3 separate regions of the Homo sapiens genome follow, and all the other regions are linked to region 2. Evidence: promoter capture Hi-C in 16 types of primary human blood cells and fetal thymus (Javierre and others, 2016). All regions are on one chromosome and are shown on one strand. Each heading gives the region's core, a stretch centred on a gene start or on the middle of the fragment in contact. The rest is flanking DNA. Distances are from core to core; before and after follow the strand shown.

Evidence for each region. Contacts are between HindIII fragments. The CHiCAGO score rates a contact against its expected background, and 5 or more counts as called.
Region 1: a fragment that was not itself captured here is called in contact with the fragment with the promoter of IL22 in region 2 in 1 of 17 cell types (megakaryocytes); the score reaches 6.1 in megakaryocytes.
Region 3: a fragment that was not itself captured here is called in contact with the fragment with the promoter of IL22 in region 2 in 1 of 17 cell types (naive CD8 T cells); the score reaches 6.1 in naive CD8 T cells.

The regions. Positions count from the first base shown.
Region 1 is chr12:68,779,366-68,783,142 of GRCh38, forward strand. It overlaps SLC35E3 (solute carrier family 35 member E3), which reads left to right. Exons shown (of 5, transcript NM_018656.5): 5 at 1-2,103. Among named protein-coding and RNA genes, the nearest start is that of MDM2, 27 kb to the right of the region's middle. The HindIII fragment of the contact is 3,050 bases long and covers 200-3,249 here.
Region 2 is chr12:68,251,610-68,255,721 of GRCh38, forward strand. IL22 (interleukin 22) reads right to left here and starts at 1,995. Exons shown (of 6, transcript NM_020525.5): 1 at 1,974-1,995; 2 at 1,654-1,885; 3 at 1,155-1,220; 4 at 895-1,038. The coding sequence starts at 1,839. The HindIII fragment of the contact is 7,204 bases long and covers 1-4,112 here.
Region 3 is chr12:67,356,419-67,360,469 of GRCh38, forward strand. No RefSeq gene overlaps it. Among named protein-coding and RNA genes, the nearest start is that of LINC02420, 84 kb to the right of the region's middle. The HindIII fragment of the contact is 7,279 bases long and covers 1-4,051 here.

The DNA.
Region 1 (3,777 bases), core at 475-2,974, 530 kb after region 2:
AAACTTAATGTTGAGAATGTTCTAGAATAGTGAGTCATTAGATTTCAAAATATTGGTATTGAACCAGATGGTCTTGTGGCTTCAAAGAAGTCTCTGAAGTCACTCCAGGTGATATTAAAAGTACAGTGCTAGGACTGTCTGACCCAAAATATGTGGCTGGAACCAGAAAGGATATAAGCATGGTTTGAGAAGGAAAAAAAGCTTAACAAGGGGGAATTGAGGAAGCCATTTGCAAAACTTCACAGGAAAGTTAAATGAATGAATGAATAAAATGTGATTAATAAATATGGGGGCCAGGTACAGTGGCCTGCATCTGTAATCCCAGTGTTTTGGGAGGCCAAGGCAGGAGGTGCACTTGAGGCCAGGAGTTCAAGACCTGAGCAACACAGCAAGACCCCCGTCTCTATAAAAAATTTTATAAAATTAGCCGGGCATGGTGGTAGACACCTGTAGTCCCAGCTACTTGGGAAGATGAGGCAGAGGATTGCCTGAGCCCAGGAGTTTGAGGTTATAGTGAGCCATGACTGTGCCACTGCACTCCAGCCTGGGCAACAAAGTGAGACCCTGACTCTAAAAGTAAAATTAAATTAAATTAAAAATAAGTGGATAAATATGGGTTATGCTGTGAAGCATAGAGGGAGGGATGAAGAGGGACATTTTAAGCCACTTCTCTGGCCCCAGTTTCTAACATTATTTCTAAAATGCAGGATATCTGGTTATCCCAAACCAGTTATATTTTTATTTAAATTTGCTCAAAATTTTTATTTTTAAATCTTAACAATTTCTAAAATCACACTTTTTAATTTATTTTGTATTTTTTTGAGACAGGGTCTTACTTTGTCACCCAGGCTGGAGTGCAGGGGCACAAACATGGCTCACTGCAGCCTCGACCTCCCAGCCTCAAGTGATACTCCCGCCTCAGCCTCCCAAGTAGCTGGGACTACAGGCATGCACCACCACACCTGGCTAATTTTTTTATATTTTGTTTGTAGAGATGGGGTTTCACCATGTTGCCCTGTCTAGTCTTGAAACCTTGAGCTCAAGAGATCTGCCCACCTTGGCCTCTCAAAGTGCTGGGATTACAGGCGTGAGCCGTCCTGCCTGGCCTAGTCACACTTTTTTTTTTTTTTTTTTTTTTGGAGACAGAGTTTCACTCTTGTTGCCCAGGCTGGAGTGCAATGGCATGATCTGGACTCACCGCAACCTCCGCCTCCTGGGTTCAAGCGATTCTCCTGCCTCAGCCACCCAAGTAGCTGGGATTATAGGCATGCACCACTATGCCCGGCTAATTTTGTATTTTTAGTAGAGACAGGGCTTCTCCATGATGGTCAGGCTGGTCTCGAACTCCTGACCTCAGGTGATCTGCCCGCCTCGGCCTCCCAGTGTTGGGATTATAGGCATGAGCCACCGCGCCCAGCTAGTCACGCTTTTTAGTCAAGATTTTTAAAAATGTCTGCATGCTTTTCTGAGAGCCTTACCTCTCTTGTGATTTGAAGCATTTTCTCCACCAGGCCTAAGGCTGAAGGAATGTAGTTTGCTGCCCTTCAGTCTATGACAAGGAGGTCTGTTTCCTCCAACGCCTGCCTTTTAGACAGAGTGTTGATTCACAGGGAACAGAGGCAGACCTGGGGCTGACACTGAATGAATGCTACTCACAGCAGTAAGGGGAAAAGTGGGAAAGTCTTGTTTATGCTGTGGCTGATGTGGATGTCTTTGGGGAAGAAAAATTCAGGATGAGTTTATTGAGAGCATTATTTTTGAAAGTATAAGATTTGTGATTGTAATATAAACTTAAATCACTTTGGGAATGAATTTAAAAAATCTATGTGACACAAATTAATCATCATTCTCATTGTAAATTTGGCAAAGTATTTGTAATTAGGAATATCTGTCATACTGGCACTGGGCAAATTATTCTGAATGTTCCCATGCTGAAGATTCTCTCAAAAAGGGAAAAAACAAGATCCTTTGTTTGTATAAGTACAATCAGTTTGCTGAATAAAACCTTTATAGCTACAATTATAACAGGATTGTTTCTACATTTTAGCTTGGAGATCCCATGACTACTCTGTTTTGCTAATAATAAACCAATACAGTGCTACAGAGATGTTTCTTTCATTAATGTGTTGCCTTCCCTTGCCTTGCCTTGCCTTGCCCTGCCTTGCCCTGCCTTGCCCTGCCTTGCCCTGTCTTGCCTTGCCTTGCCTTGCTTTCTTTTTTTGAGACAGGGTCTCACTCCATTGCCCAAAATGGGATGCAGTGGCATGATCTCGGTTCACTGCAATCTCTACCTCCCAGGCTCAAGTGATCCTGCCACCTCAACCTTCCAAGTAGCTGGGACCACAGGCATGCGCCACCATGCCAGGTTAATTTTTTGTATTTTTTTTTGGTAGAGATGGGGTTTCTCCATGTTGCCTAGGCTCATCTTGAACTCCTGAGCTCAGGCGATCTGCCTGCCTCGGCCTCCCAAAGTGCTGGGATTATAGGAGTGAATCACCGTACCCGGCCTCATTACTATGTTTTCTAAAGTTGTTTCATTCCTACCTTTCTCCTCGAAGCCCCTCAGCTTCAAATATTCAACAAACCATGATTCTGACCTCTATGCTTTCTTTATTCTCTTCGTAGCTCTGTGAGAGCAAAAAACTTACCTGTCCCCAGTGGGTAAAACAGTGTTGCACACAGTTTAGACATTGTCTTTATCATCTCTAAGCTGATAATTCTCATATCCAAGTCTTTAGTTCTATGCTCTTGTCCATAGTTTACTGTTGTTCTTTCAAGAAAAAATGGTGTCCCATGAAAAAAGCAGTGTACTGCAGCACAGAATTCAATCTCTAGGAAGGTTATTCTTGAGATAACCAATGTATATACTTTGGTGTGCAGAAGTGCTTATATGTGCTTTCCATTGTATCATACAGAGTACTAAAAAGATGTGCACTCAAGGATCAAGACTAAATAAAATTAATAACTGTGACTGCTTCTTCAAGGACGTTCTTCAGTGAATTTTAAGAAAAACTGGCTTTTTAAACTGTTGAGTACATAGTGATGAACAATGACTGCTAATACAGCTGGTGCCATGGCTTTGATTCATGCCAAGGTAACAACAGTTTTACCTACCATTGCTTTTGTGCCATCATGCAAAGGTCCAAAAAGTGCAAAAAGCAAGTAAAATCTTAGTATTATTATGAGAGCTCTGACCTCATGAGACCTTTTTGGGGGTCCATGAACTACACTTTGGGAACGGCTGCCCTAAGCTTTTAGGATGTCATGGTAAACAAGATCACAAGGTCCCTGTCCTCATAGAGCTTAAGAAGACAAACATTTAACAAGTAGAGAAGTGACTAAGATGACTTCAGAGTATGATCAGGTCCCTGAAGAGAATAAACAAAGGGAATGTGATGGATAAACTAGGGGTTGGGGGGCTGGGGGGTGCGGCTTTTGAAAAACTTCCCTAAGGAAGTGACATCTGAGCCCAAAGCTCAAGGATGAAAAACTAGGTCTGCCATGCACAAAACTGGGAAGAAGTTTCTGGAAAGATGACATAGCAAGGAAAGAAGTCTGAGGCAGGAATGATCTTGGCATTTGGGAGACAAGAATGAGAGCAGTAAGGCTAGATAACAGCAGTATTTTTATGGCCCTTAAAACGCCTTCAAGGCTGGGGGCCGTGGCTCACGCCTGTAATCCCAGCACTTTGGGAGGCTGAGGCGGTTGGATCACCTGAGGTCAGGAGTTCGAGACCAGCCTGGCCAACGTGGTGAAACTCCATCTCTACTAAAAATA
Region 2 (4,112 bases), core at 745-3,244:
ATGTTGTGCTGAAACTTTATGAACCTCCACACCCATGGAGGTACAGTACAATTCACCTGGAATTAAAGCTCTTAGTAATTTTGCCCACAATGACCTAGATTTCAACAGTGACCTAGATTTCCTGAGCTCTTGAATTCCCTTGGACGCCAGAATCCAGTCACTTCCCTTACAAGAGACCTCTCTTCATCTTTGGGAAATCCTACTGAGGTTTGCATTTGTGGAAAGAGCGGAGTAGTTTATGCAAATTCTGTAAGGAATAAAACCTCAATCGTATCTCCAGAAAATTGCATGCTTAGAACAAGAAATGTACATAAAACATCTCATGTGAAAATTAAGCCCTCTTCAGTAAGTCCTAGGGCCTTTTACTGGGCCCACTCCACTCAAACTTTTTTTCATAGTTTCAAATGTTCAGCGGCATCAAGTTCACACGCCTCCGATTTTGTGGCTTCCCATGACATCAACAGGGCAACAGTCTGCCGACCCACCACCGACTTTAAGCCTTCCCATTTCCCACTTTCTCTTCTAATTTCTCTCCATGCCATCCCCTCCCCTCAACAACTTAGACTCAATGGATCCATTTCCACATCTAGATGTTTTTCCCAACACCTTTCTCATCTTACGCAACCTGAGTTGCCTTTTTTCCGAAGACAAACCAATGCGGCTTCTGTACACTTAAGTTCCAGACCCCATTCACCACTATAAACTCAAGATGTGACTCAGTCAAAGCAAAAGCAAATACTCTATGATCCCAAATGACTCCTGATAACACTGCTGCCAAGACACTTCTTCCTGCTAGCTTAGGGGTAGGGGGAAGGAGAGAGAGTTGGGGTAAGGGGGTCTCTGTGGAAGGAGGGAAGGAGGGGTAGGTGGGCATAGGCTGAGAGCTGAACTTACACATGTGCTTAGCCTGTTGCTGAGCCTGGCCAGGAAGGGCACCACCTCCTGCATATAAGGCTGGAACCTATCAGATTGAGGGAACAGCACTTCTTCAAGGGTGAAGTTCAGCACCTGCTTCATCAGATAGCAGCGCTCACTCATCTGCAGGTGGAAGGGAAACAGAAAGGGTCATAAGGGATAAGACCTAAACCATCATCACCACCACCCCAAGTACCCATGGACGGCACACGGCCCTGTTCGTCACAACTGTAGCTTACACTGACTCCGTGGAACAGTTTCTCCCCAATGAGACGAACGTCTGTGTTGTTATCAGCCAAGCTAGCCTGGAAGAGAAGAAAAGACTAAGGGTCTGGACATTGAGCAAATAGAAAAAAAATTTATACATAGACATGTGCCCCATCCCGTCTCCCCAGAGCAACATCATAAAGACTAAAAGCAGAATTCAGATGTGTGCATGAGTTTAGAACAATGCACAGAGGCATAAAGGAAAAAAAAAATCATCAGATGGATTACTGAATGGCCGCTCTTTGGGAAAAATTCATCATATGTATCATAAAGGCCAAAATGGAAGGAAGAAGTTCAAGAAAAAAAAAAAAGCCAGATTCCCAAAGAGTCTCTGAAAAAACAGAAAATTTATCTACCCTCAGGGATAAACAGTGGGTTCCTAAAGCTCTTAGAGATGCTCTGAAGAAAAGTTTAAGAACTATTTGGATTCCAAGTAGATCCAACGAGAAAGAGCAGGATTGAGATGTATACCTCCTTAGCCAGCATGAAGGTGCGGTTGGTGATATAGGGCTGCTGGAAGTTGGACTTGTCAAGCCTGCAGTGGGAGCTGATGGGCGCAGCTGCTCCTCCCTGTACCAAGAGGGCCAAGAGAAGGAGGCAGCTGGTGGCCAGGGTCCCCATAAGGAAAGAGCTCACAGATTTCTGCAGGGCGGCCATTGCAGACAATTCTAACTCGAGCAACTGGTGACTGGGGAAGGAGAACCTGGTCGAAGACAACGTGAAGGAACAAAATTAGTCAAGAAGTATTTCATCAAACTAACCAATTGTACCAAGTTTGCCGAAACGCTTACCTGTTCTGAAGATTCTGCTTGTGACGGGGAAGGTAGAAGCTGCTGCTTTTATAGCCCCCAGGATACTGACTTTTTTTTAATTGTGAAAAATATGACATCAGCAATTATCTAATTTCCAGTACTGTCTTCTGAGAACGACCTAACCACCACAGGAGCCCACAAAACACCACCTCTATCCTTTCCACCTTGAGATGCAAGTGTTTCCCTAAAACGTCACTATTAGAGCCCGGAGGGTATTTTACAGACAAATCCCAGAAATTTTCTAAACCCTACATATTTTTCAAAGAACACAATTGTTTTGTCTTAGTAGAGTTCAGATTTAGTATAAAATGTTTTGATCTCCTATAGTGGCTGAGTAAGCATTTTGGTCACGGACTCATTTTCCTACCAGCTTTATAGATTCTTATCTCATTGGAGGTGATCAGAAAAAAAGGACCCATGTCCTATATCCTCTGCTTTAAAGTAAATGGTAATGACAGCTAACAGATCATTCCATTATTAAAATAATTTTATCTCATTTTTAAACATGCTGAATTCTAAACCAGACTTATGTTTCAAAAATAACTGTCTTGGCTAATCTAATTATTGTTTTCTTCCCTTTTTGGAACTATTTTTAAGTGATCATAACAATTAAGGCAGAAGTAAATATATCTTAAAATTGTATTAATTGAATTATAATCAATATCAACTTAAGTTTGTAAATACTAATGCTGAAAATCTGATCTCCTTTTTTCTTAACATGTAAACTTTTTTTAAAATAAAAGAATACCATGGATATAGTTCATCTTAAAATTTTACCTAATTCTACACTTCACACAAGTCTCAACATAATATTTCCAAATAATCCTATAACAACTATATATGTGTGTGTATATATATTATATATGTGTGTATACTATATATATACATATATATGCAACATTTTATATATATACATATATACACACACACACATGGATGTCTGAAGAAGGGAATATAGGAATATAGAGGTTCCGCGTTACCTTCAAATTATTTAAAAATACACCTAAAACTAGACTGGAAATTCTCCCGCAGAGCAAGGAAGCAAATGCAAGTATCAAAATGCAAATACCTATTGCTGAGGGAAGGAATGTGAATTAGTGCAAATTTGTATAATCAGATTTTTCTCCTCACAACTAGTTAAGATCAGGAGTGTTGAAGAACTGGAAGTAGGGATGTAAATAATTGTAAAACCTAGACCACTTTTTGAGATGGCACAGACCTAAGCAAGGTGCCACTGCAAAGGGTCGGAACCACATGAGGACACTGAGCATTTGTGAAGGTGGCCAGAGGAGAAAGAAGCAAAAATGAAGATTAGTGAGAGTAAAAAACACCACATGATCACACTTGCATGTGGAATCTAAAACACTTGAACTCATAGAAGGAAAGAGTAGAATGGTGGTTGCCAGGGGCTGGGTGGGCAAGGGGCAGCGAGATGGGGAGATGTTACCCAAAGGATACAACATTTCAGTTAAAGAAGAGGAATAAGTTGAAGAGCTCTATTGTCCATCATGGTGATGATAGTTAAGAACAATATATCGTATGCTTAAAAATCACAAAGAGCATAGATTGTAAATGTTCTCATTACAAAAAAAAATTTCAAGTATGTGAGGTAATGCATATATGTTAATTCACTCAATTTAGCCATTCCACAATGCATGCGTATATCAAAACATATATGAAATCAACCTAAGTATCCACAGATGGATGGATGAATGGATAAAGAAAATGTGGTATATATACACAATGGAATACTATTCAGCCATAAAAGAAATGTAATCCTGTCATTTGCAATAACGTGAATGAACCTGAAGGACACCATGTTAAGTGAAATAAATCAGATGCGGAAAAACAAATACTGCATGATCTCACTGATATGTGGAATCTAAAAAATAATAATGATAATAATAAAGTTGATATAGAAGCAGAGAATATAACAGTGGTTTACCAGAGACTGGGGGAGTAAGTGGGGAAAGGAGGATGGGGAGAGGTTGGTCAACGGGTACAACGATACAATTAGAAGGAATAATTTCGGTGTTCTATTACACAGTAGAATGACTGTATTTAACAGGAAAATATTGTATTTTACAAAATAGCTAGAAGAGAGGCTTTTGAAGATTC
Region 3 (4,051 bases), core at 651-3,150, 900 kb before region 2:
TACAGGCTCTATTAGAGACTAATTTTTAAAATAGCCCCTGATATTCCTCAACTCTTTATATTTAGCATTTTGTACACTATTCTCCAAGTTGGCATTTGGCAGCTTTTCCTCCTCTTAAGGCAAAGTTAAAAAAAAAAAAAAAAAAAAAAAGGGACATTTGCCAAGGAACAATTTCACCACAGGAGCTTGGCTGGGAAACGGGAATTTGGTATCTTGCTTGTGCACCTGCCAGTTGATTTCTGATTTCTGTATTAGGGGAGAGAGAAAGTTATTCTGAGGTTTATCATCAACAGCTGCCTAATCTTAATAGGTTTAGCTATCTTTTAGAGTTATCTAATTTGAAAATATCTGCTGTTTGATTACCTTTAATATTTTCCTTTTTAAAAAATTATACTTTAAGTTCTGGGGTACATGTGCACAACGTGCTGGTTTGTTACATAGGTTTACATGTGCCATGTTGGTTTGTTGCACCCATAAACTCATCATTTACATTAGGTATTTCTCTTAATGCTATCCCTCCCCTGGGCCCCTGAATATTTTCTTAAAACAAAAAGTTCCTGGTTTAGCAAGCAAAACTGGGATAGGTATGCAAAAGAGAATCCAATGGAGAGTTGAGCACAAGCAGCTAGAAGAAGAAAATGAATATACAGAGAAGGGAAGTTTGTAAAACTAAGGGTGGGAACTTTCTATAGGGCAGCACAGAATAGTTTTTTATTCACAGAAACTTTAACTATATTGCAGTACTTCGCAATTGAAAAGTGGAAAAGATAAATGCTTCATTCTAGTGCAGTAGTTTTGTAAGGGTTCTTTTTCTAATATGAAGTTTTTTTTTAACATTAATGTCTTCTAAAGTACATCTAGGTGGTCAATAAGTGCTTATTTGATTCATTCCTAATACAAATATTTTTGAGCTCCTACTGTTCACTGGATCGAAATCCTAATAAGTTTGAGTATGCATTTGCTATCTCAAGACGTTTGCTTTCTAATAGGTGGAGATAGACAGTAAGCAATTATTGGTAAGTAATGCTTTCTAAAACATGTAGGTTTTTCAGATTTTGGTAATCACAGCATGAAAGAAAGTCATCAAGGCCAGTTCTATGCAAGGCTGCAAAGCTAGGAAAGTATCAAAACAGCAGATCTCTGGCTTTAAATTCTAGCTTATGATTCATTAACAGTGTGCCCGTGAGCAAATTGCTTAACCTCTCTCAACTTCAGTTTTTTCATGTAAAATGGTAATAATAGTACTTATTGGTGAGTCTGTTATGGGGATTTAATGAAATAATGTAAGAAAAGCATTCAGCATGGCACTCACTTGAGACTCAATAAGTGGTAGCTACTGTGATCATTTCTGCTTGTCTTGCTTCAGCTGGTTTCCTTCCACTGCCAAGGGCTTGGTTCCTTGTGCTTGCTTGTTGCTGCCATTCTAGAGGAACACTCCTCCTGCCTCTTCAACAATACATGCACGCTGTGATGCTTCCTTTAGGTCTGCCGTCTCCAGGGGAATGGGGTTCTATTTCTAGAACTTACTTCAGGCTCCTGATCTCTGCCTGATCCAGTTAGATAACTGAATAGACTAGCCTGTGCCAAAGAGGTCAGCGCTAACCTTCACCCTTTGTTATTTTTGAGACAGAGTCTCGCTCTGTTGCCTAGGCTGGAGTGCAATGGCACGATCTTGGCTCACTGCAAGCTCTGCCTCCAGGGTTCAGGTCATTCTTCTGCCTCAGCTTCCCAAGTAGCTGGGACTACAGGTGCTCGCCACCACGCCTGGCTAATTTTTGTATTTTTAGTAAGAAAGGGGTTTCACCGTGTTAGCCAGGATGGTCTTGATCTCCTGACCTTGTGATCAGCCCGCCTCGGCCTCCCAAAGTGCTGGGATTACAGGCATGAGCCACCGTGCCCGGCCACCTTCATCTTTTACCTTGTTGAAAGAGGGCTGCTGAGACAGCCTGTCAGTGTGCACCATCCTGCATTCTGGCTTTTCTTTCTGAGGAGCGCTGCCTGTGGTCCTTTAACAGTTGCATTTCTGCTTCCAATGGCCGGACAGCCCAGGTATTCATCAAAAAGTGCTTATGAAGGGACTCTTCATTTCTAAATGTTGGGTGGACAGTGGTGGACAAAACAGACACTGGTGTCGCATTGAGCTTGGAGAAAAATGGAGACATAGACATTACACAGACAGACACACAGGGAAAAATATTTACAAATTTGGTAAGTACCACAAAGGAGGTGGTATGAGGAAGAACTAGGAGTCTGATTTAGATCAAGAAAGTGTATTAATTTTCTAGGGCTGCTGTAACAAAGTGCCACAAGCTGGGTGACTTTAACATCAGAAATTTATTGTCTCACAGCTGTGAAGAGTAGACATCTGAGATCAAGATTTTGGCAGGATTAGTTCCTTCTGAGGTCTGTGAGGAAGAATCTGTTCTATGCCTCCCTCCCAGCATCTGGGGGTTTGCTGGCAGCCTCTGGCGTTCCGTGGTTTTTGCTGCATCACCCCAACCTCTGCTTTCATCTTCACATTGTCTTCTCCTTGTGTGCATGTCTGACTTCAAATTTCCTCTTTTTATAAGGACTCCAGTCCTGCTGGACTAGAGGCCCACACTACTTCAGGAAGACCTCATCTAATTAGATCTGCAACAACCCTATTACCAAACAAGTTTACATTCTGAAGTAATGGGGATTAGGACTTTTAACACATGAATTTTTGTGGTTATGCAGTTCAACCCCCTACAGTCAACAGGGAAGAGCTCTCCAAGGAAGAAAAGAAAGGCATTTTAGTGGTAGAAGTGTCTCTTGGGGCTCTACAGTCATTCGGTATAAACAGCTGTTGCTCAGCCCTGTGTGAAGTTGGCCTTGTCACGGTAGCTTAGGCTGGGAATGGAGACAGAAAAACTCACATGAATTGTGCTTGTATATCTTGTTACTCATATGATTCTACATTTGAAAGTGGAAATTCAGTCTCCCCCGCAAGAGATGGGGCAGGAGGCTTTTTTTACTTCTTGTTCTTTGACATTAATGTGATCACTCTAGTTTAGGCTTTTGGATCATAGGGCAGGGAATGAAAATTTGGATAGTGTGACAGATTTATGCAATCATCTGTCGTGTCAGAGTTGCATGGAAATTTTAGATACTGAAAAAGTATCATTTGTGTTTTCATCCATCCATCCATCCATCTATTGCTATATGTGGGCACTGTGGTAGCTAATGGCAATGCAATCAGGTGATAGAAAAAATATTTAACCACTCATGATGTCAGGGCCAAAACCAATAACATCAGTAAACAATTGGTATGGCCACCCCAGGGCCAATCCACTAGCTACCAGCCATGTGTACAATACTTAATAACCAGCAATTGTCCTAGGTCTCATGAAGCTGGCAGCTGGCTAATAGAAATAAGATGCATACACATGTGTAATTTAAAGGTTTTTTTTCCCTAGAGTATGGGGTCTCATTTTGTTACCCAGGGGTGCAATGGTATAATCATGGCTTACTGAAATCTCAAATTTCTGGGCTCAAACAGTCCTCTCAGCTCAGCCTCCTGAGGAGCCAAGACTACAGGTGTGCACCACCATGCCTTGCTATTTTTCAAAATTTTTTTTATAGCGATGGGATTTTACTATGTTGCCCAGGCTGGTCTTGAACTTCTGGCCTCAAGTGATCCTCCAGTATTGGCCTCTGAAGTGTTGAGATTACAGGCATGAGCCACTGCACCTGGCCAATTTAAAGTTTTTTAATAGCTATGTTAAAATGTAAGAAGAGACCACTGAAATTAATTTAACAATATATTTTATTTATCCCAATATATCTGTCATTTCAACATGCAATGAATATAAAAATTATTGATGCAATATACCACATTCTTTTTTAATACTAAGTCTTCAAAATCTGGTATGTATTCTAATGCATTTACAGCACATCTTAATGGACAAACCACATTTCCAGGGCTCAATATTCACATGTGGCTGGTGGCTACCATATTGGACAGCACAGGACTAGAGGATAAATGGAGATCAGAGATCTAGCTCTCACTTTCTTAGAAAGAGAAGAGACC